Regions from separate parts of the Homo sapiens genome. Here regions 1, 3, 4, 5 and 6 are each linked to region 2. The links are contacts of gene promoters, found by promoter capture Hi-C in blood cells and fetal thymus (Javierre and others, 2016). All regions are on one chromosome and are shown on one strand. The core of a region is centred on a gene start or on the middle of the fragment in contact, and the rest is flanking DNA. Distances in the headings are between cores, read along the strand shown.

What was found. The method cuts DNA at HindIII sites, captures the fragments that hold promoters and counts their contacts. A CHiCAGO score of 5 or more calls a contact.
Region 1: a fragment that was not itself captured here is called in contact with the fragment with the promoter of TRMT10C in region 2 in 6 of 17 cell types (non-activated CD4 T cells, naive CD4 T cells, total CD4 T cells and 3 more); the score reaches 12.7 in non-activated CD4 T cells.
Region 3: a contact is called between a fragment that was not itself captured here and the fragment with the promoter of TRMT10C in region 2, in 6 of 17 cell types (non-activated CD4 T cells, total CD8 T cells, activated CD4 T cells and 3 more). The highest score is 6.9, in non-activated CD4 T cells.
Region 4: a fragment that was not itself captured here is called in contact with the fragment with the promoter of TRMT10C in region 2 in 3 of 17 cell types (total CD4 T cells, naive CD4 T cells and non-activated CD4 T cells); the score reaches 5.5 in total CD4 T cells.
Region 5: a contact is called between a fragment that was not itself captured here and the fragment with the promoter of TRMT10C in region 2, in 6 of 17 cell types (non-activated CD4 T cells, naive CD4 T cells, total CD4 T cells and 3 more). The highest score is 12.5, in non-activated CD4 T cells.
Region 6: a contact is called between a fragment that was not itself captured here and the fragment with the promoter of TRMT10C in region 2, in 1 of 17 cell types (non-activated CD4 T cells). The highest score is 5.6, in non-activated CD4 T cells.

The regions. Positions count from the first base shown.
Region 1 is chr3:101,377,604-101,381,666 of GRCh38, forward strand. The region is part of intron 6 of SENP7 (SUMO specific peptidase 7); the gene reads right to left. Among named protein-coding and RNA genes, the nearest start is that of IMPG2, 59 kb to the left of the region's middle. The HindIII fragment of the contact is 5,077 bases long and covers 1-4,063 here.
Region 2 is chr3:101,559,175-101,563,555 of GRCh38, forward strand. It overlaps TRMT10C (tRNA methyltransferase 10C, mitochondrial RNase P subunit), which reads left to right and starts at 2,694. Exons shown (of 2, transcript NM_017819.4): 1 at 2,694-2,829. RefSeq lists enhancers at 2,680-2,749, 2,760-2,829. The HindIII fragment of the contact is 12,384 bases long and covers 1-3,809 here.
Region 3 is chr3:101,418,538-101,422,733 of GRCh38, forward strand. The region is part of intron 4 of SENP7 (SUMO specific peptidase 7); the gene reads right to left. Among named protein-coding and RNA genes, the nearest start is that of SENP7, 93 kb to the right of the region's middle. The HindIII fragment of the contact is 1,245 bases long and covers 669-1,913 here.
Region 4 is chr3:101,333,247-101,337,144 of GRCh38, forward strand. All of the region lies in intron 17 of SENP7 (SUMO specific peptidase 7), which reads right to left. Among named protein-coding and RNA genes, the nearest start is that of IMPG2, 15 kb to the left of the region's middle. The HindIII fragment of the contact is 539 bases long and covers 2,379-2,917 here.
Region 5 is chr3:101,395,498-101,399,381 of GRCh38, forward strand. SENP7 (SUMO specific peptidase 7) reads right to left here. Exons shown (of 24, transcript NM_020654.5): 6 at 3,364-3,558. Among named protein-coding and RNA genes, the nearest start is that of IMPG2, 77 kb to the left of the region's middle. The HindIII fragment of the contact is 2,163 bases long and covers 188-2,350 here.
Region 6 is chr3:101,355,476-101,359,437 of GRCh38, forward strand. All of the region lies in intron 11 of SENP7 (SUMO specific peptidase 7), which reads right to left. It also overlaps the pseudogene ZNF90P1. Among named protein-coding and RNA genes, the nearest start is that of IMPG2, 37 kb to the left of the region's middle. The HindIII fragment of the contact is 330 bases long and covers 2,474-2,803 here.

The DNA.
Region 1 (4,063 bases), core at 528-3,027, 180 kb before region 2:
ATCAGAGCATTCTGTTCTTAACAAGGCCTGCCCTCAAGAAAAACTATTTCACCAGAGCCTAAACTATGAGTTATTTTTTAGAGCCTAATCAAGCAGGGGAAATAAAAAATACCCAACTCTAGCTCCGTCTAGCATTCTGTGTGAGGAAAAGCAAGGAAAATACACAATTCCAAGACCATCTAGCTTTCCATGTGGGAGAAGGGAAATATCTAACTTCATTATATTCCAGGTATGCTGTTGCACCAAAGCATTCAGAAGAGAATGAGAAGCACTTGTAAAGTTAACAGGCCAAGGACAAAGGCTCATTAACGCCTGAGGTTGCAATTTTTTGAATTTTTGCAATCACAGCTTGGTGATAACCTTTAGCAGTAGGATATAAATAACTTCCACATGCCTAGCGTTCCAGTAATAGAACACTAAGCATAAATGGGTTAAAAGACTGAAACCTAACAGGACTACAGAATGCTTTTCTTCCTCTCACATCTTACCACCACATTCCTAAAGGTCTATTTACAGTAGTTGCTTTTATCTAGTACGTCATGTCCAACTATCCAAAAAAAAACAAAAAACAAAAAGAAAATTAAAAGCCACTCTAAAAGAAAAAAAACCACAGTTTGACAACAAGTATCAGAACCAGAACCAGACATGTCAGAGATGTTGAATTATCAGATTAGGAATTTAAAACAAATATGATCAACAGATAAAGTATACAGCATATAAGCACTTATGGGCAATGTTAGCAGAGAGAAAGTGTAATGAAGAATGAAAAAGAAATACTAAAGATCAAAACACTGTAACAGAAATGAACAATGCCTTGGATGGGCTCACTAGTAGACAGGATATGGAAAAGGAAAGAATCTCTGAACTTGAGTATATAGAAATAGAAAATTCCAACACAGGAAAGCAAAGAGAAAAAAAGACTAAAAAAACCCGTAACAGAATATTGAAGAAATGTGGGACAACTACAATAGGTGTAGCATAGGCATAATGGGAATATCATAAGAAGAAAGAGGTAAAGAAACAGAGGAAAAATGCAAAGCAATAATGCATGAGAATTTCCCCAAATTAATGTCAGACACCAAATCACAGACTGGCAAGTTCAGAGAACACCAAAGAGAATAAATGCCCAAAAAATAACACCTAGGCATATCATATTAAACTGCAAAAAAATCAAAGATTTAAAAACAGTTAATAAAATCCAGAAAAAAATAAGCCCTTAACTATAGAAAAACAAAGACAAGAATTGTATCTCATTTCTCAGAAACCATGCAAGTAAGAACACTGTGGAGTGAAATCTTTTAAGTGTTCAGAGAAAAAAAACCTACCAATAAATAAATAAAGTACAAAGTTGCAGGATTAATACTCTCTGATTTCAAAACTTTCTGTAAAGCTACGGTAATCAAAACAGTGTGGTACTAGTATAAAAACAGACACATAAACCAACAGAACAGAATAGAGATCCCAGAAATAAACCCTCAAATACATGGTCAAATGATTTTCAACAAGGGTACCAAGACCATTCAATGAGGAAAGGGCAGCCTTTTCAACAAATGATGCTGGAAAAACTGAATAGCCACATGCAAAACAATGAATCTGTACCCTTACCTAACACCATATACAATAATTAACACAAAATGGATCAGAGACCTAAGCATAAGGCATAAAGCTATTTTGAAAATTCTTGGAAGAAAACATAGGGGAAAATCTTCACATTAGATTTGTTAACATTTCTGAATATGACAACAAAAGCACAGTCAACTAAAGAAACAGATTACGTAGACTTCATCAGAGTAAAAAGGCAACCCACAGAATGAGACGAAATATTTGCAAATCCCATATCTATTAAGGGATCAGTATCCAGAATATATAAAGAAATCCTACAACTTACAAAAAAAATCCAATTCAAAAGCAGGCAAAGTACTTGAATAAACATTTCTCTAAAGAAGACATATAAATGGCCAACAACACGAAAAGATGTTCAATATCACTATTCATTAGGAAAATGAAAATCAAAATCACAATGAGATTCCACCTCACATGCATTAGGATGGTTATTATCAAAAAAACGAAAACAAGTATTGGCGAGATATGGAGTAACTGGAACCCTTGTGCACTGCTGGTGGCAATGTAACATGGTGCAGCCACTATGAATAATAGTATGATGTTTCCTCAAAAAGCTAAAAATAGATTGCCATATGATCCAGCACTTCTACTTCTGGATATATACCCAAAAGAACTTAAAGGAGAGATACAAACACACACTGAACACCCATGTTCATAATGGCATTACACACAATAGCCAAAATGTAGAAGCAACACCACTATCTATCAACAGATGAATAGAACAAAATTTAGTTGATACATAAAATGGAATATAGTCAGCCTTAAAAAGGAAGAACATTCTGACACATGCTGCAACATAGATGAACTTTTAAGACACTATGCTAAGCGAGATAAGTCAGTTAGCAAAGGACAAATACTGTGATTCCACTTATTTAAGGTACTTAGGGTCATGAAATAAATCATAGAAACTGAAAGTAGAATGGTGGCTGTCAGGGTTTAGGGGGAGAGAGGAATGAGGAGTTCCTGTTTCATAGATACAGAGTTTCAGTTTGGTAAAAATGAAAAAAGTTCTGAAAATGAATGGTGGTAATGGTTGTACAATAATGTGAATGTACTTAAAATAGATTAAAGTCCCTATTATTCAAAATGAGAACACAGATACTAATTAACTTTGGACTTTGATAGGTCTATCAAGTATATTATAATTTATAGAAAACTATTTAAAAATAGAAAGAGTCTAAATCTTCTAGAACGTAAAGCAAACCACCGCCCCCCCCCCCACACACACACACAAAACAAAACATAACTAATTTTTAAAATACAAGAATGGGTGGGGCACAGTGGTGCACACCTATAGTGTGCTACTTCGAAGGCTGACTTGAGGCCAGGAGTTCAAGGCTGTAGTGCACTATAATCATGCCTGTAAATAGCCACTGCACTCCAGCCTGGGCAACATAGCAAGACCTATCTCTAAAAAAAAAAAAAATACAAGAAAGGAAAAAAAGTCAAGCAGACCAAATAAAAAGCATAAAGAAAAATAGTAGTATAAAATATAAACAGACTATGCCTTATAGTTAAAAATAAATGTAGACTGAATGTAAAAAGAGAAGTATCCAGATACATACTATTTACTGGCAACACATATAAAATGAAAATGTCCAAAGGAGCATTGTTTATGAGAGAAAAAAAACTGGATACAATCCAAACTCCATCAATAAAAAGTAGGTAGATCTATTTTTAATATTAATACAATAAATACATAAGTAAAACTGGATGATCTCTAGCTCTATGCATCAACATGAATGAATCTCACAAAAATGTTAGGCAAAAAAAATGCATGCCATGTAATACATATTGTTCAGTAACCTGAATCATTTTTCTAAAGTTCACAATTATATAAAACTTAAAATTCAGAAAAGTGGTTAATTCTAAGGCGAATGCATGGGAATGGGACAGAATGGGCAAAGTGGGGAACACAGAAGGCTTCGGTGATGCTGATAATAGTCTATTTTTTAATAGAAGGTGAACATTTGGGTGTTTATTTTAACATTATGTTTTTTAACTTAAATGCATCTCATATATATTAGACCTGTGTTATAGTTCTACCTCTGCCACTTAATCTCTTTGAACCTCAAAAAGTTTCCACATTTATAAAATAGAAATATTAACTGCTCTCCTATCTATCTCATAGGCCTAAAGTAAAGATTAATATCAAAAGAGGATAGTGTGAAATGAATAAAAATAACACTATTTTTCATGATTATAATCATTTAATCCAGAAAAATATTTAGATGAAAGCATATCAAAATATTATCAATGCTTATTATTGAGGAATGGATTATGGGTAATATCAATTTCATACTTTTCTATATATCTCTTAATATAAATATGCATTATTGTTCAAATTAGGAAAAAGTTTAAATGTTTACATAAATTACATATAGATAATAATGAAATATTATTTTGAAAAGAGTGATAACCATATAATGCAAATGTTCAA
Region 2 (4,381 bases), core at 1,444-3,943:
TCTCTATTATATAATAAACAGTGCAGGCAAAATACATGGCAAATGACATTTGCACCAGTGTAGAAAAGATAACATGTGGTGGAATAAGCTCTGGGGAACTGGAGAGTGGGTGCCTTGACTACAAAACAGCCTTTATTTAGGTCTAACCATTGTTTCCAAGAAGAAATATGAGCCAAGAGAGAGCATTCAGACCTTCTAGTTTTTCAATTCTAGTGTTTATGTGACATTGTCTTATGGGTTTTTATATATTTCCTTGCTTTTAAAATTTATTTCTTTTTCTTTTCTTTTTTTGTGTATTTTTTGTAGAGAGAGGGTTTCACCACGTTGGCCAGGCTGGTCTGGAACTCTTGAGCCCAAGCAATCTGCCTGCCTTGGCCTCCCAAAATGCTGATTATAGGCATGAGCCACTGCTCCTGGCCTACAATTTATTTTTTATTTTTTTGATACCTTACATCCCATATTACAAGCTATTTTTCTATGCCAAAACATGTATTTTGAGGCCGGGCGCGGTGGCTCACGCCTGTAATCCCAGCACTGTGGGAGTCCGAGGCGGGCGGATCACGAGGTCAGGAGATCGAGACCATCCTGGCTAACACGGTGAAACCCTGTCTCTACTAAAAATACAAAAAATTAGCCGGGCGCGGTGGCGGGCGCCTGTAGTCCCAGCCACTCGGGGGCTGAGGCAGGAGAATGGCGTAAACCCGGGAGGCGGAGCTTGCAATGAGCCGAGATCGCGCCACTGCACTCTGGCCTGGGTGAAAGAGCGAGACTCCGTCTCAAAAAAAAAAAACAAAAAAACGTATTTTGAAAATCACTGTGCTTTTTGTTGGAGGTAAGATGTCTGAAACCTGGAAATATTCTTAATCTAGAATAGGTCAGATCCCAGACATATTGAATAAATTATGTTCTGCTATATTTATAGAAACACTTCCAAAGATTTTTCACATAAAGAATCTTAGTAAACTTAACAGAATGAAATTTCCTTTACTTGACAAAGATCATATAGCAAAAACCTTCATAAAATATTAATGGAAAAACTTCAGATGTATCTCTTTAAAGAACAGGAACAAGAAAAAATAACCTCTACACTGCTATTTGTTATAACTACTAGACGATATTTATTCTTGATTTTTTTCCATGTTTGGGAGTAAACTCATGATTATTTTGCTATCACCACCTCACCTTTCTAACATGATAGTAATCAGTCTCTTAGACAAGATCTCGTTTTTTAAAATCATTTGGAAAAGACTATGCCTACCTTCTTTTATTTTAGTAAACTATATACAATATAAACATTTCCATTTTAGTCATTTTCAAGTGTACAGTTCAATGGCATTAAGTACATTCACGTTCTTGTACAACCATCACTACTATCCATCTCCAGAACTTTTTCATCATCCCATACTGAAAATTCATACCTATTAAACAGTAACTGCCCATTCTTCCCTTTCCCCAGCCCCTGGTAAACACTATTCTACTTTCTTTCTTTATGATTTGACTATTCTAGGCACTTCATATAGGTGGACTTATACAATATTTGTCCTTTTGTGCCTGGCTTATCTCAGTGTATAATGCCTCCAAAGTTTATCCATGTTGTACCATGTATCAGAACTTCATTCCTTTTTAAGACTGAATAATATTCCATTGTATGTACATGCAACATTTTTTAATCTATTCATCTGTTCATGGATATTTGGGTTGCTTCCACCTTTTGGTTATTATCAATAATGCTACAATGACATTAGAGTACAAGTGTCTGTTTGTGTCTCTGCTTTCAATTTCTTTGGGTATATTACTAGGAGTAGAATGGCTGCAGAATATGTTCATTCTGTGTTTGGTTACAAATATATGTGGAGGCTGAATTGGCCCCAAAGGCCACCAATTTACAAATGTGTTTTAATTTCATTTCACATTAAACTTTCCAAATGAGCTAGGAGGAGACAGAAACTTACCGTGGCTTATCACGTTCCAAGCATAGTGCCAGGTACTGGTGATAAACTGGTCAAAAAGATTAGGAGTTTAAAGTCCTAGCGTCAAGGAGTTTGAAGCTGAGTAAGAAGACGTGTGAAAAAAACATACTTTATTTTAGTACTCTGTCAGCAAATGTTTATAAATACAGGGCCCAAACAGAGAGTAGGTTGAAAAGAGGATTAGAAACAGTTTTTTTTTTTTTTTTTTTTTTTTTTTGAGACAGAGAGTCTTGCTCTGTCGCCCAGGCTGGAGTGCAGTGGCGCGATCTCAGCTCACCGCAACCTCCGCCTCCCAGGTTCAAGCGATTCTCCTGCCTCAGCCTCCCGAGCAACTGGGATTACAGGCGCGCGCCACCACACCTGGCTAATTTTTGTATTTTTAGTAGAGACGGGGTTTCACTATGTTGGCCAGGCTGGTCTCAAACTCCTGACCCCAAGTGATCCGCCCGCCTCGGCCGCCCAAAGCACTGGGATAACAGGCGTAAGCCAACTGGCCCGGCCCAGAAGAAGTTTTTAGGATATATGGAGGAAAACACAACACAACACAGCTACAACTCCGTGACAACTGAGAGCGTAGTCTTCGAGTACCCAGTTGCCTACTGACAGCCGTCTCCTCTAAGGCGCTTCTTTTAGCCAAGAAAGCGTTCTTTGCGTGCTGTGACGTAAAAAGCAGCGCCGGAAGGGAGAGGGCGGAACTTCCGGCTGAGCCCCAGCGACCGCTCTGGTCGGCTGTGTAGACTGTTGGGTAGGCTGCGTGCTAGCTTCGGCGCGGATCCCTGGGCGTCCGTACGTCGGAGTCCTTCGTCCTCCAGGGTCCCTGTTCTTTGCGCCAGCGGGAACCACTATCTCTGCACTCCTGGTAAGCGAGTTTCTTCTTTCGCCTAATGTGTGTGTTGGGGGTGGGAGGACGCCGGAGACGTTCCAAGATGCACTTAGTGGAGCATGTGCGTTCGGAAGGCCCACGGGTAAGAGGAAGCCCAGTGATTTTAATAAACTATAACTAGTACAGTACCTGAAACAAAATCAGTGGTTCCTGAAATGATGTACTTGATTGCTTTTTACAATTGGGGTTTTCATTTCTGTGGTATTCTAAGTCCTTGCCAGTTACAAGAATAAAACTTTTAAAACTCCTTCTGAAATCAATGTTTATTAGATTGGGGCCTGGGGACCCCAGTTAAATATTTCCGGGATTCTAAAGTAAATTGTTTTCTCTTTAAAGGGAGGCTGAGCCGGGCGCGGTGGCTCACGCCTGTAATCCCAGCACAATGAGAGGCCGAGGTGGGCGGATCACGAGGTCAGGAGATCCGAGACCATCCTGGCTAACACAGTGAAACCCCGTCTGTACTAAAAATACAAAATAGCCGGGCGTGGTGGCGGGTGCCTGTAGTCCCAGCTACTCGGGAGGCTGAGGCAGGAGAATGGCGTGAACCCTGGGAGGCGGAGCTTGCGCCGAGATCGCGCCACTATACTCCAGCCTGGAGTGACAGAGCGAGACTCCGTCTCAAAAAAAATAATAAAGGGAGGCTGAACTTTTTTTTTCTTTTTTTTTTTTTTAATGAAGGAAGCATCGATCTAGGGTATTAGAAAAATATTTGCGTGATTACTGTGAGCCAAATACTGTCAAGCATTGGATTCAATGTTAACATTATAGACAAAGTCCTTGTCCTCATGGACACTAGTTAGTCCTTACCATCTAGTGAGGCAAATAGATAACCAGGCAATTACAGTGCAGTGTTAGAAGTACTGTCATAGGCACCAGAGTGCTGTGAAAAGTAATGGTGGAATACTTGAAGTGTGAGGTGAAGAATAGCTAGAGATGCTGCTGACCTGGCCGCAATAAGCTTAGAAATATATGTTGGGAACAATACCAATGGATAGCAATATCCCTTGAAACAGAACATTGAAGGAGGATCAGATTGTGAAGCAAAGGTAGAGGGGTTATTTCGATTTGTTGCGTTTGAGGTGTTTTTTGTTTGTTTTTGTTGTTTTGAGACAGTCTTACTCTGTCGCTCACTGCAACAGATTTTGTTGCAAAATCTCGGCTCACTGCAACTTCCGCCCCCCTTATTCAAGCGATTCTTCTACATCAGCCTCACGAGTACCTGGGAAGTAGAAGAATCGCCCCACTTCAGCCTCACGAGTACCTGGGATTACAGGCATGCGCCACCACACCTGGCTAATTTTTGTATTTTTAGTAGAGACAGGGTTTCGCCATGTTGGTCAGGCTGGTCTCAAACTCCTGACCTCAAGCGATCCTCCCTCCTCGGCCTTCCAAAGTGCTGGGATTACAGGAGTGAGCCACTGCACCCGGCCTGCATTTGAGATGTCTTTCTAATGCATGGTCATTGAAGCCACAGAAGTAGGTCACATCTCAGAAGGGAAATGTATAGATTGAAAAAAAAGAATAGGAT
Region 3 (4,196 bases), core at 41-2,540, 140 kb before region 2:
TACTGGGAAATGTTTAATCAGAAGAGTGTCTATTTTACTACCTATGAAACAGTTTTAGGCACTTTTTGTTTGTTTGCTTAACAAACACAAGAATATTAAGAAACAGCAATATGTTCACATATTTTCAAGATAAAACGGGAACTCTCAAAAAAAAAAACCACTTGTTTGCAGCAGCCATTTGAGTGTATATCCCCAAACCATCTAGTGGGAAGAGGGTACAAGTTCCCAGGGTACTTCCATAGAACACTGAAAACTCCAAACATGTTGCACACACACAAAAAAAAATTAAGCTATTAGTTTTAAAATTATTAAAAAATAAATGACATCTCTATGGATCAATAATAATTCATTCTACAAGCACTTACTGAACATCTTCCAGCAAAACAACGATGCTAGTATAATCTGGAGTTTCAGCTACAAACAAAATAGTTGAGTTTTTGCCTTCATGGGGTGTACATTACAGAGAATAAACCAATTCATTATTTAATTAGAATTCTAATATGTGCTATGAAGAAGAAATACAGATGTTGCACTTCTTCTGAGCCAAGTTTCTGAGAATATGACCTTGAAGCTGAAGTCTCAAAGAAGGACAGGCACTATCCAAAGGAAACAAGTAAAAAATGGAGAAAGGTCCAAAAAACAGGACAAAATGCAAATGTTTTGAGTAAAGCTTCTTCAAAGAAATTAAAGGACTTACCTGACTCATGTACTTAGAATAAAGAGGTAATGTGTCTAAGAATGGGCAGTTAGGCAGGACTTAGCAAACCATATTAAGGATGTGAGACTTTATGTCAACAACAATGGAAATCCACTAGTCTTAATTAGGAAACACTGAGATCAGAGCTACACTTTTAAAAGATCATTTTGATGTTTATGAAGAATAAAATGGAAGTGCTAGGAATAATGAGGAATAAAAATTAATTTACGGAGATGATGACTTTATCAGAGGTAGTTTAGAAGAATGGTGGGAGCAGAAACCAGAATACAGTGGGATCAGCAAAGGGAAAGGAGCAAAGGGATATAGCAAATGAAAGTAGTTGAGAAATATGGTTGTGAAAGTGGAAAATAAGACAAGACCTGAAAATAGACATGAGAAGCAGGAAAGGGTTTTTAGTCAGTTACTGGTTGATTAGTTAAAGATAGGAAAGATTTGTGTAAGTTTAAATGCTTATGGGAAGCACGTAAGGGTTAAAGACACAGAAGGCAGGATAATTAACACAGTAAGTTTCCCAAGAAATTGCATTAAGTGCTAATATTTATTGAACATGTACTATATACCAGGCACTGTGCTAAGCATTTTACAATGATTTATTTCATTTAATCCTCACAACCACTCCATGAGGGGCTTACAAATTATTCTTCTCATGCAGCTGAGGAGACCAAGATAGGCTGATTAATATCTAAGTAAAACGAGTGAGTAGTGAAAATGCGATTCAGAACCACACACTCTCAAATTTCTTGCCAGCACTCTTAACTGCTTCACACTACACTGGTTTATGACAGGAGAAGAGGCATTCCAACCAAGACCTTCTCTTAAAAGTGATAGGAGGCCAGGCGCTGTGGCTCACGCCTGTAATCCCAGCACTTTGGGAGGCCAAGGCAGGTGGATCACGAGGTGAGGAGATCGAGACCATCCTGGCTAACATGGTGAAACCCCGTCTCTACTAAAAAATACAAAAAATTAGCCGGGCATGGTGGCGGGCACCTGTAGTCCCAGCTACTCAGGAGGCTGAGGCAAGAGAATGGCGTGAACCCAGGAGGCGGAGCTTGCAGTAAGCCGAGATTGCGCCACTGCACTCCAGCCTGGGCGACAGAGCGAGACTCCGTCTCAAAAAAAAAAAGTGATAGGAAAGATAAAGGAACATAGGTTTGAAAAAAGTTTTCAAATAATCCTTGTAGAGAGGGGGAACACAAGCTTACTAAAGAAACACACGTTGTCTTACAGTTAAGAAATCCCTGTGAGATTAACACATTTATAATGCCACAAATATCCTTTTTTCCTGCAAACAGATAATTGAGTTCACAGATGATTATTAATTGCAAAGAAGAAAAGGTGTCTTTACAATGAACAGATCTGGCAGGCACCATCTTATGCAAGTGATCAAACATAGGAGTACTAAGAGTGAAACAACCAGAAATTATGTTACCCCCTGATATGTGCAGTAAGAAGTACATGACATCAGGTATGAAATATTCCTGCCAAAAATGTAACCTGGACCTAATCATATGGGCAAGACCAATAAAATAATAAAAATATAGACTGTGAGGCATTCTACAGAACAACTGGTCTGGACTCCTCAAAACTCAATGTGATGGTTAAAAGGGAAAGGGCAGAGCAGGTGGGAACTCTTCTAGATTAAGAGACTAATGGGGTATAATAACCAAATACAATGCATGAACCTGAACTTGATTCTATTAGGTAGGTACAAAAGTAACTGCAGTTTTGGCCAAATAGATTTAAAAATAAATAAATAAAAGACATTTTGGGAATACTCGGGAAATTCTGATTGTGGACTTTATAGCAGATGATGATATGAAATTACTGTTAATTTTCTTGATAGTATATTATAATTGTTATGTAAGAGAATGTTATTGTTCTTAGGAAAAGCAAGCTGAAGTATCTGAAGATAAAATACCATGATGCCTGCAACTTACTCTCAAATGGTTCCCCAAAAAATGTATGTATATGTGCATGTATATATGTATATATGTGATGCCCATCTATATACATGCATAAAGAGACACCGAGAGACGGCAAATGTGCCAAAATGTTTAAAGACTACCAGTCTATTATTTATACATTTTACAACTGTACAATTTAAAATTCTAAATGACCAAATAAAAATGCAAACAAAACTTTAAGGAAATTTATTTTAAGGATAAAATGTAATTAAGTCTAATGGAAAAACTATATGACTTAGGTATTTGCTAAATTATTGAGGAAATTATTATCTCAATGGTAATTTTAATAATTTCAAATATGAGACTATTCAATGTTGGAAAAAGCCATTTTTCTATTCACTCAGACCAAATAAGAATTTATATTGGAAAATAACAAATCATTGGTAATTTTACTGATTATTCTAATAGTGAGGCTCTAAATGAGACGGACAATTTGGCTTCTCCGGGAAAATACTTATTTCACATTTGACTTTATTATAATTTGTCTGACTAAAAATATCCGGCAACAGAAGTCAGTAATCTTTTTCCCCCCAAACTAGTAAGGTGAAAAAATTCTAAACATCTACAACATTTAAGTGTCATAAGATTTCTCTGTATACCAGAAGAGAAACTTAAGAGTAAAGAACAACATTCAAACCAGGCAAAATAAAACCTAAATTTAGTATTTAGGGATATATACTTAGGTAACAATACTATCCAACAAAACTAAGAAAGTAATTACTTTGAAAGTTAGGTGAGTGGTTATCGTTAAAGCAGGGGTCCCCAGCCCCCAGACTGCCTTGTACCAGTCTGTGGTCTGTTAGGAACTGGGCCACACAGCAGGAGGTGAACGGTGGGTGAGCGAGCATTACCGCCTGAGCTCTGCCTCCTGTCAGATCAGCAGCAGCATTAGATTCGCATAGGAGCACGAACCCTATTGTGAACTTCACATGCGAGGGATCTAACTTGTGCACTCCTTATGAGAATCTAATGCCTGATGATCTGAGGTGGAACAGTTTCATGCCTAAACCACTCCCCACAACACCAACCCACCCCACTCTCAACCCCATCCGTGGAAAAATTGGCTTCCATGAAACCAGTCCCTGGTGCCAAAAAGGTTGGGGACTGCTGCTTTAAAGGGTTATCATTTGCAGGGGTTGAGAACTTCTGGGGCAGTTTTCTGTTTTGTACCTCAGTGGTGGTTAAAATCTACCTTATTAAAAATAGATTAAATTTAATGAATAATTCATTGAACTGTTTACCTTTTAGTCATTTTTTGTTAATTACATTATATTTCACAGCAAAAATGAAAAGTAAAAGGCAGCTAAACAGAGAACTCCACCTAACCCAACAATCTATATACTTAGGTAGGCTGGTTCCTGTTACTTGCCTAGGCTTTTTAGAACCATCCAACTGTCTATTTATAAAGTGTTCCTTTGAAAGCTCCAAACCATTATACTAATACTCACTTAATTTTTTATGAGGGGAAATGATCATTGATCCATATACTCAGATTCTTTAAAAAATCGCATTCC
Region 4 (3,898 bases), core at 1,398-3,897, 230 kb before region 2:
TTTTAAAACTCAATGGGCTGAGTGTGGTGGCTCATGCCTGTGATTCCAGCTACTTAGGATGCTAAGGTAGGAGGATCACTTGAGATCAGGAGTTCAACACTAGCCTGGGCAACATAGCGAGACTCCTGTCACTAAAAATATAAAGAAAATTAGCCAGGGTGGTGACACACACCAATAATCAGTCCCAGCTACTTGGGGGATTGCTTAATCTCAGGAGTTTGAGGCTGTGATCACACCACTGCACTCTGGCCTCAGTAACAAGGGAAGACCCTATCTCTAAAAAATAAATTAATCAGTTAACTTAATTTAATTAAAAATCTTAATGGAGGAGGAAAAATGAGGCTTTTATTCTCAGATTCTTTAAAATAAAATTCATCTCCCTTCCTTTCATACACAAGGAAACTACAGGATGATGTTAAATGTACCTACCACTCATCCATCTTTCCTTTTATTTCTTCAACAAATATTTATTAGGTTCCTAAAAACAAATAATGAAAGTCACCTACACTGCCCTAGAAGTATTCATAATCTAATATGGGCAGAAAAAACTATAACAAATAACTAAAATGTGTCATAAGAGGTACAAAGGAATTATGGTAATGCAGCAGTCCCCAACCTTTTTGGCACCAGGGACTGGTTTTGTGGAAGACAATTTTTCCAGGGACAAGGTTAGGGGGGATGGTTTCAAGATGAAACTGTTCCTCCTCAGACCGTCAGGCATTAGTTAGATTCTCATAAGGAGCACGCAACCTAGATCCCTTGCACGCACTGTTCACAACAGGGTTCGCGCTCCTGTGAGTATCTAACGCTGCCACTGATCTGATAGGAGGCAGAGCTTAGGCAGTAATGCTCGCTCACTGCTGCTCACCTCCTGCTGAGTGGCCTGGCTCCTAACAGGCCACAGACTGGTACCAGTCTGAAGCCCAGGGGTTGGGGACCCCCTTATTAAACCATCTGAGACAGCCACCTTGAACAGGGTTGGCTTGCATACACACAAATACTAGTTTCTTTTCTTTACCTAATCAGGGGAGTTAAAAGAGAAGGATATAAAACCAAGTTTGACTGTCAAAAGAAAGGTTTTAGGAAGGAAGAAAATGACATTTAACAGGGGGATAAAGGTGGTATGTGACTTCTGGCTCAGTCCCTTGGATGGAACTCTTATTGCAGGAAAAAAAAAAGGCAAACCATTACATTCTTATATAATTTTTATCAAGTCATATAGGAAACTGAAATCATTGCCCCATCTTGTTCATTTGAATAATATCTAGCCAAAACTCTATGGGTAAACATCAGGAGTAACATAGGATCCAGAATGAGCTAAAAGATTTGACAGCAATTAGACACTATGTGGAAGATTAACCACATAAAAAAATCAAAGTCACGTTTATTGAATTTTCTCATTTCAAAAGGACCCAACCATTATAATCAGTATAAACAATTACTTTCAACTAGTGTATAGTCTGTTAATTTGTTTTCTATTTGAAAATCTTAAGGATAGACATCTGGTTTTATATTGGTATTTGGTCGATTTCCTGATTATGCTAACCTTATTTGATTGAGAATATATTAGACATAGAATGAGGCAAGGAGGATAGGAGAGAATATGAGGGCCAAACATAATCTCCTATTCTCAGTTCCTGTGTAGAAAATCTTCAACTAAATGTCTAACAGTTCTCTCAGTAATCAATAATAGGCACTGTTATCATCTCATATTTTGAGTTCCTAATATGTTCCAAGCACCGAGCAAGGTACTGAGGATAGAGTGGAAAATAAGACAGATAAAGTCCCTAACTTCATGTAGCTTCAAATGAGAAACAGAAAATGAAGACGTAAACAAACGAATAAAATGATTACAGATCACGCTGTGAAACAAATTTTTTAAATGCCAGGATAAGTTGTTTCAGGCAGAAAATAGGAAAGCGGTCAGCATATTTGAAAATGGAAATGAGGTAGGTTGAACTTAAGTATGGTAAATGAGAGGAAACAATATTATGAGATGAGTTTAAGGAGATGGAAAGAAACCAGATCTTTCAGGATCTCATAAAGCATGATAAGGAATCTGTAGCTTCTCAACACTAGTAGTTAGAGCCTTTTGATGTGGATTTATTGGCCATTAAAATTCATATCTCTTGCTGCTCTGATGACTTTTAAAAACTGATTTGTAGGGATTCTTTGTGTAAACACTAATGCTTGATCTGATATATCAAATTGTGTGAATGCTTAACAGACCAAGCATTAGTATTCACACATTCATGTGCATGTGTACATGTGTGTGTGTGTGTAGTATCTTATGCATCTTACCCTAGAGGATGCCACTCACGTAACTTTATTTTTATTATGTATATAATAATCAGGTACACAATATCTGTTTTTTGAAAAGCTTACTAATACAGCAGAATCTATCTACTTTCATTTCCTTAGTTTGAAGGTGAGTATACAAAATTCACAATCTCTACTTTGAATAATCTTGAAATAAAACATGAGATTAAGTGCATGGTACCAATCATTAAATTCTGTATACATAAAACAGAACAGGAGGGCATCAGAAATGTTACCTAATTTATTTAATAAATCTCCCCCTTCCATATATCCCTCTCCTAGCCCTGATTATCAGAAATATTTTCAAATTGCAGTTTTCTCCTTAACTGATCCTCGCAGGTCTTGTCCATCAGGACAAATTCCAAACCTGTAAAGACACTCAAAATGGAGTTAATCATACATCCCAGTTTGTCTAGAAAAGCCCTGGTATACGCACTCGTTGTCTAGTGTACCCACTAAGACAGCCTCCTATTATTCTCACAAGCATCCCAATTTAGACCATTAATTATATAATCACAACACTATGAACAACAGAAAGAGTTGAACTTTGAAACTGGAAAGCTATATCCAACTTTGAAAAACTCATATAACTTCCTTAAGCTTCAATTCATAAAGACAATGACAATAATACTGTAGAATCAAATAACTTTATGTTCACCGTCTTAGTTCCTAGCAGGCACTCAATAAATATTAATTAGTGTCCCTATTCCTACCCTCTTTCTCCAACAATATATCAAATTCAAGCAGTTTATCCATTAATCCTCTTCTAACTCTTGTTTATTACTCCTGTTATTTTAACGAGATGAAACAAACTCTCATAGCCATTTTTTAAAGCAATCTAGTACAATAAAAACTTTGGACTAGAAGTTAAAAGGTAAAGATTTAAGTACCAACTAGTTCTGCCACTCACTAGCTGTTCATCTTAAGTAAAATTTATTAATCTTCATTAGACTGCTTCCTCATATGAAAAATTGGGATACAGTTTATATGCCCTATCAAAAGGTACTGTCATGATAGGAAAAACTGAAATAATGTCAATAAATGGAGTTGTAAATTGTAAAGCAGTAGAGAAATGTTTACACTAACTTTTAAAATAACAATAACTCAGCTTTATCATGAGTCTACTCAGATAGATTATCATACAAATTGTTAAGTATGGGGAAAGGGGAGAAATGCCTCATGTTGCAACAACTATCCAAGTTTCTACTGTCTAAGAAATACCTCCTTTTTGCCTATCCCTAGCCACTGCTCCACAGTTTTAGTATTAACCAAAAAAATACTTGGGCAAAAATCAGCTAAATTGTGCAAACAAATAGGGTATTTCGTATAATGTAGCATAGGTTTAATTAAATAGTCTGTCATTGGGGATCCAACCAGGAAAACAAAAACAGCCCTATATAACAGATAGAATTCAATGCAGGAAATTGGCTATAGCATTGACAAAAAAAGAAAAACAAAAAAACACAAAGCCAAAAACGGGGACAGTGAGACAGCAAAGATTAGCAGAGGAGGAAACTGCTATACCTGTAGGGTAGAGGGCAAAGAGAGGAAGCAGTACCTCCAGATGAAAGCTGGAGTT
Region 5 (3,884 bases), core at 19-2,518, 170 kb before region 2:
GGTCTGTTTTTATACCATGCTGTTTTGGTTACTATAGCCTTGTAATATATTTTGAAGTCAGGTAGTGTAATGCCTCCAGTTTTATTCTTTTCACTCAGGACTGCTTTGGCTATTTGGGCTCTTTTTTAATTCCATATGATCTTAGGGTTAAGATTAACAAATTCATCTTAAGGGAAGAAAGAACTAAAGCTTGGTTTAAGGAGTTCAGTATTTGCTAAATTAAATGGGGAGGCTAACAAAGCCATAACAATTGCTTTGGCAGCAATGGTGATGACGATAAGTGGACTCAGGAACACATGTTGGCACCCTCATTGTAGAAGATTTCAGTAACATCAACTATAGTAATATCCTTTTATAATACTTCTGATATCAGCACCAATAAGAGAGACACAAAAATAATGACTAACTTTTAATAATCACCTACTAACTTCCTGGCATTATACTTGGGACTTTACATGGATCATCTCCTTATATCTGCACACTAACCCAATAAGGTGTGTATTATTATCCCTGCTTTAAAGACACGGTAAGAAACCTGTCCAAGGTAAGTCAGTGTATTAGCAGTATAGCTAATATCTTAATCCAGATGTCTGGCTCCAAAGTTCATGCTTATTCCAAATACATGAATCAAATAAAATTGTCACTAAGGGAATGAATTTTCAAGGTCCACATCAAAACCACCTGGAAATTCCACATCTATTTAGAAAGGATTTAAAGGAGAGCTAGTGTTCCCACTGAATAGTTTTGGGGAATGACCAGAAATATTATACCTATTAATATTATTAAACCTTAGCCCCAGAATGGCATAAAGGCAGAAGCGTACAGATTACAATTTGATTGTTTCATACAATCTTCAAAAGTGTGATTTTTCTTAACAACATAAATGTGCACTGACATCATCTGAGTTCCATGGGCAATGGCACATCATAAGTTTTTTCTTTTAATCTTTTTCTTTTTTTTTTGCTCATCATTTGACTTAAAGCTCAATCATCACAACTTTTTCTCCAACAGAAAGTACCTTCCTTAATATTTTCATTTATTTTATGGGCTCAAAGAATTCTCAGAAGTGAGATTTAAAAGAAAAGAAAAATAACATTTTTGTGAGGTACATAGGGCATTCAAAATTACTTCTCTGTTTACAACTCAGAAAACTGAATTTTACATTAAATGACATAAGCATTAACCCAAGAGCAAAAAATTTAGTATACATTGAGCTAAGTCCTAGGTATAAATGCAAATAAGACACAATACCTCTTCTTCTCAAGGAGCTCATGGTATAGCAGAGGAGGTGGAAATAAACAGCTATACTGCAACGTGGATAGGTACTTTTGTTGTTGTTGTTATTGTTTTTTGTGTGTTTTTTGAGATGAAATTTTGCTCTTGTTGCCCAGGCTGGAGTGCAATGGTGCGGTCTCAGCTCACTGCAACCTCCACCTCCTGGGTTCAAGCAATTCTCCTGCCTCAGCCTCCCAAGTGGTTGGGATTATAGGCCCCTGCCACCACGCCCAGCTAATTTTGTATTTTCGGTAGAGACAAGGTTTCACCATGTTGGTCAGGCTGGCCTCGAACTCCTGACCTCAGATGATCCACCCGCCTCAGCCTCCCAAAGTGCTGGGATTACAGGCGTGAGCCACCATACCCGGCTGTTGTTTTTGAGACAGAGTCTTGCCCTGTCACCCAGGCTAGGATGCAGTGGCTATCATAGCTCACTGCAATCTTGAATTCCTGGGCTCAAGCGATCCTCCCACCTCAGCCTCCCAAGTAGCTGAGACTACAAGCATGCACCATCACATCTGGCTCATTTTTTTCATTTTTAGCAGAAACAAGATCTCACTATGCCTCCTAGGCTGGTCTTGAACTCCTCGCCTCAAGTGATCCTCGTGCCTCAGCCTCCCAAAGGGCTAGGATTATAGGCATGAGCCACTTGATAGATACATAGGCATGAGCCACTTGATAGATACATTACTAATTTCCCCAATTACACATTAAATTTAGTAACTGAATAATGCCACTGAAATTCTCATTTTGGGGGGAAAACTTAGCAAGAGACCTAATAAAATATAAAGTTAAAATTGTCGTTACTGATTCACTAAGTAGAACCTAGGTGAAAATATTTTCCAAAAGAAGAAAAATTCAAGAATTCATAGAAAATAAAGAGTTTTAAATAATAAAATTTGTTGTAGATATTTAAAAAGGCAACTATAAGTACTATTTAATGTAATTAGGCTTACAATAGAAATACAAACCAGAAGTTAGCTTTGGATAGTTTGGGGGGAAAAAAATTAGGATAATCAACTTTTCATCTATATAAAAAGTATCCTACAGGCTGAACACAGAAAATAAAAAGAGAAGCTTCAGAAGCTTGTAGCAAATGGAAGTTTATAAATCTAACAGAATGTACTAACTGACCATCCCTAGCTTTGTGCCACAGATTTTTTCTTATTTCCAGTCCACACACAATCCTCTCCTAGAGCTTAAAACAAAGGCAACTTCAGATCTGCATTTCTCTTATTGGCACAACAAGCTACATTTGTCAATGGAATTCAGCTTTTCCATTTGTTAATGGAAAATCTCAAACCATTTTTTTAAGGAATGTGTTCAGCCATTCATTCAAAAACTATTTACTGAGCACTAAGTACTAGTTAAAATTCTAGAGTCTGAATATAAAAATAACGGACAAGGCCGGGGGCAGTGGCTCACGCCTGTAATGCCAGCCCTTTGGGAGGCTGAAGCAGGCAGATCACAAGGTCAGGAGATCGAGACCATCCTGGCTAACACGGTGAAACCCTGTCTCTACTAAAAAATACAAAAAATTAGCTGGGCGTGGTGGCACGTGCCTGTAGTCCCAGCTACTTGGGAGGCTGAGGTAGGAGAATCGCTTGAACCTGGGAGGCAGAGGTTGCAGTGAGCCGAGATCATGCCACTGCACTCCAGCCTGGGCGACAGAACGAGACTCCGCCTCAAAAAAATTAAAGTAAAACAAAATAACAGACAAGACTGAATGGGTAGATGGATAGATGGACAAATAGAACAGAAAAAGAGAGGGCAATAGACTAATGTCAGAGGAATGGATTTCAATTACACCAGACAAACTGGGATACTGAAATAGGTTACCAGATTTTCATTAAGTGTCTGTATCCATTTTTCCAAAATACAAGTATGGTGGCCAGTGCTTCTGAAACACATTATTAGCCATGGACTGTTGGTTCCAATAGCCATTCCAGCCACCCGGGGAGAAAAATAATACCAGCTATCAGAGCACATTTACCTCACATTTAGCAATAATGTATCTGTGAAAAAGAACAGGGAAGGATACATAAAAATAAATATAATTATTTTGAGTAAAGTTATCACTAAACATACCTTTCAGATAAATAACAGCTCTTGTGAGGGTTTAGATTTTGATAAGATTCTAGGCTGCCATCAGATGATGAAGAAAGTTGCTCTGATTGCAAGTTGTCTGTATCACTCAAACTTCCCTCAGTTACAGGTGGGGTCCTTATGTATTTTCTTCCTAACTCCGTTCCCAGGACATTCGTCAATATAACTCTGGGTATCCTGTCACATAGAATAACAAACACTGTACTGTACTGAAGTTTTCAGTTAAAAAAAAATGTATTCCAGGAAGGTGAATTTTCAATCATTGCCATCTTAGCACAAGAAAGCTGTTCGAACTACACCACCCTAGAAATTAACCCATAAATACTTAAAAATTTAGAAAAACACAATCTTTTGGTTTATAGAAGCACTTGTTTCTTATCACTTATAACATAGATTAGCCTGCCACTACAATATCTTTAATTATACTAATGGATGCCATTGAGAGGCTTAAAATTTTAACAAATTCTTCTCTAAAAATGCTTTCTTTCCTTTTCCAGAAATTA
Region 6 (3,962 bases), core at 1,389-3,888, 200 kb before region 2:
CCCATTGCTTGTTTTTGTCTGCTTTGTCAAAGATCAGATGGTCATAGGTGTGCAGCTTTATTTCCAGGCTCTATATTCTGTTTCATTGACCTATGTGTCTGTTTTTGTACCAGTACCATACTGTTTTGGTTACTATAGCTCTATAGCACAGTTTGAAGCTGGGTAACATGATGCCTCCAGCTTTGTTCCTTTTGCTTAGGATTGCCTTGGCAATCAGGCCTCTTTTTTTTGGCTCCATATGAATTTTAAAATACTTTTTCATATTTCTGTGAATATCATTGATAATTTGATAGGAATAGCACTGAATCTATAAACTGCTTTGCGCAAGATGGCCATTTTAATTCTATTGATTCTTCCTATCCATGAACATGGAATGTTTTTCCATTTGTTTGTGTCATACTGATTTCTTGGAGCAGTGTTTTGCAGTTTTCATTGTAGAGATCTTTCACCTCCCTGGTTAGCTGTATTCATAGGTATTTTATTCATTTTGTGGCAATTGTGAGTGGGATTGCATTCCTGATTTGGCTCTTGGCTTTGTTGCTGTTGGTGTATATGAGTGCTAGTGATTTTTTTTTAATGTACTGCATTTTATTACATAAAAGTACAATTAGTAAAATAATATAGTAATTTATTTGAATATACTTTTAACTATAATTAATCATTCCTTCCTCTCACTATAATGTTGAAAAGTATTACTCTGAACACCTACCTTATACGTTACTTAATGTAAGTTAACTACAAAGAGCCTCTCCACTTACATTTTCATCATGCATCTCACATTTTAATCTCCTTATTCATTTATAGAAAAGGTCATAAATAATGCCCAACTAATAAAAAAGAATTTCTAATATCTCTGATGCAGCAACAATTGATCATATGCTTTCCCATGTGAATACAATAGGAATAAAATAACAGCATAAAGTAATTTGAAAGCTGTATTACATCATTATTCACTTTTCAAAAAAATTTTTTCAAGGAAACAAGTACATTTTCAATGTAATTACAATACTTCAAAAAATCTACTCCCTTTAAAGTTATATACAAATAATTTAACAACTTTAGTTGTAGATTAGTTTTTATACTCAACACTCTGATTTCGTGTAATGTCTGAAGTGTCAGTACCTTATTCTACTGTAAATTCTTTGATATTTACATAGAATCAATTTTGAATTAAATATTTTTTCATATTTACTGCATCGGCAAAAATATATTTTCATATAAACTCTGGTGTTTTCTAAGCAGTAATTTTTGAAAAAAAAAAGTGTTTCCAAATTCATTACATTTGCAGGACTCTTCTCCAATATAAATTCCCTGATGCTGAAAAAAGCTTGAGCAATTGCTTGAGGGTTTTCCTCTAGTACAAAATGTGTGCAATAAGATCTGTGATACAAGTAAAGGTACTACAACCCCCTTTATATTTGTAACGGTTGTCTTCAGAATAAATACTCTTCTTCACTTTAAAGGCTTATATTTTCTGAAAGAATTTTTGACAGTAATTGCACTTTTAATGCTTTTATTAACTATGAACATTCTTTTTTTTTTTGAGACAGAGTTTCGCTGTGTCACCCAGGCTGGAGTGCAATGGCGCAATCTCGGCTCACTGCAACCTCCGCCTCCTGGGTTCAAGCAATTCTCCTGCCTCAGCCTCCCAAGTAGGTGGGACAACAGGCATGCCCCACCATGCCCAGTCAATTTTTGCATTCTCAGTAGAGACAAGGTTTCACCATGTTGGTCAGGCTGGTCTCGCACTCCTGACCTCAGGTGATCCACCTACCTCAGCCTCCCAAAGTGCTGAGATTACAGGCGTGAGCCACCGCGAGGAGTGGCATTGCCTGGACACTGCACAGTGGAATTTATATAAGGATGTGATGTTAGAGAACTACAGAAACCTGTTCTTCCTTGGTATTGTTGTCTCTAAGCCAGACCTGATGACCTGTCTGGAACAAGGGAAAAAACCTTTGACTACGAAGAGACATAAGATGATTGCCAGACCCCCAGTTATATGTTCTCATTTTGCCCAAGATCTTTGGCCAGAGCAGAGCATAAAAGATTCTTTCCAAAAAGTGATACTGAGAAGATATGAAAAATGTGGACATGACAATTTACAGTTTAAAAAAAGCTGTAAAAGTGTGGATGAGTGTAAGGTGCACAAAAGCGGTTATAATGGACTTAACCAATGTTTGACAACTACCCAGAGAAAAATATTTCAATGTGATAAATATGTGAAAGTCTCTCATAAATTTTCAAAGTCAAACAGACATAAGACATACTGGAAAAAAAACTTTTAAATGTAAAGAATGAGGCAAAGCTTTTAACCAGTCCTCAACCCTTACTACACATAAGAAAGTTCATACTGGAGAGAAACGCTACAGATGTGAAGAATCTGGCAAAGCCTTTAAGCTGCCTCTAACCTTACTACACATAAGATAATTCACACTGGAGAGAAACCCTACAGATGTAGAGAACGTGGCAAAGCTTTTAACCACCCCTCACCCCTTTTTTCACATAAGAAAATTCTTATTGGAGAGAAACCATACAAGTGTGTTAAATGTGGCAAAGCCTTCATTTCATCCTCAACCCTTATTAAACATGAGATAATTCATAGAAACTCTACAAATGTGAAGAATGTGGCAAAATTTTAACTGTTCCTCAAACCCTACTAAACATAAGATAATTCATACTGGAGATATACCCTACAAATGTGATCAATGTGGCAAAACCTTCACCTGGTTTAGTCAAGCCTCACTAAACATAAGAGAACTCATACTAGAGAGAAACCTTACAAATGTGAAGAATGTGGCAAAGCTTTTAACTGGTCCTCAGCCCTTAATAAACATAAAATAATTCATATTGCACAGGAAACCTACAGAGTCAATAATGTGGCAAATCTTTTAAATGTTCCTCAACCCTTAATAAGCATAAGATAATTTATACTGGAGAGAAACCCTATAAATGTGATGAATGTGGGAAAACCTTTAACCAGCCCTCAACTCTTAGTAAATATGAGAATTTATATGGAACATAAACCCTACAAATATAAAGAATGTGACAAAGCTTTTTAAGGAAGTTCTCAACCCTTATTACACATAATTCATACTGGACAGAAACTCTACAAGTGTAAAGAACGTGGCAAAGCCTACAACAAATTCTCAATTCTTTTTTTTTCTTCTTTTTTTGAGACAGAGTTTTGCTCTTATCACCCAGGTTGGAGGGCAATGGCATGATTTCACCTCACTGCAACCTCCGCCTCCTGGGTTCAAGCCATTCTCCTGCCTCGGCCTCCCAAGTAGCTGGGATTGCAGGTGCCCACCACTATGCCTGGCTAATTTTTGTGTTTTTAGTAGAGAGGGGGTTTCACCTTGTTGGCCGTGCTAGTCTCAAACTCCTGACCTCAGATGATCCACTTGCCTCAGTCTCCTAAAGTGCTGGGATTACAGGCATGAGCCACCATGCCTAGTCATAAGTTCTCAATTCTTAAGAGACAAACGATAATTCATGCTGAAAAGGAACTCTACAAACCTGAAAGATGTGACAGTACTTGTACAAACACCTCCAACTTTGCAATACATTAAAAAAAAAAGTTATACTAGTGTGAAACCCTAGAAATGTATAAAACGTGACAAAGCCTTTATATGGTTGCCACACTTGATTGTAGGTAAGATAATTCATACTGGCAAAACTCCTACAAGTATAAAGAATGTGGCAAAACTTTTAATCTGTGCTTACACCTTATTTCACAGGAAAGCTATTACCCTTGAGAAAAATTGTCCACATATAAAGAATATGGAAAAGCCATTAATGCTAGTGATTTTTGTACACTGATTTTGTGTCCTAAAACTTTGCTGAAGTTGTTTATCAGCTGAAAGAGCTTTTGGGCTGAGATCCTATATCTAGAAAATTTATATATAATATATATAAATATATATATAGAATCCAGACATAGAATCATATCATCTGCAAAC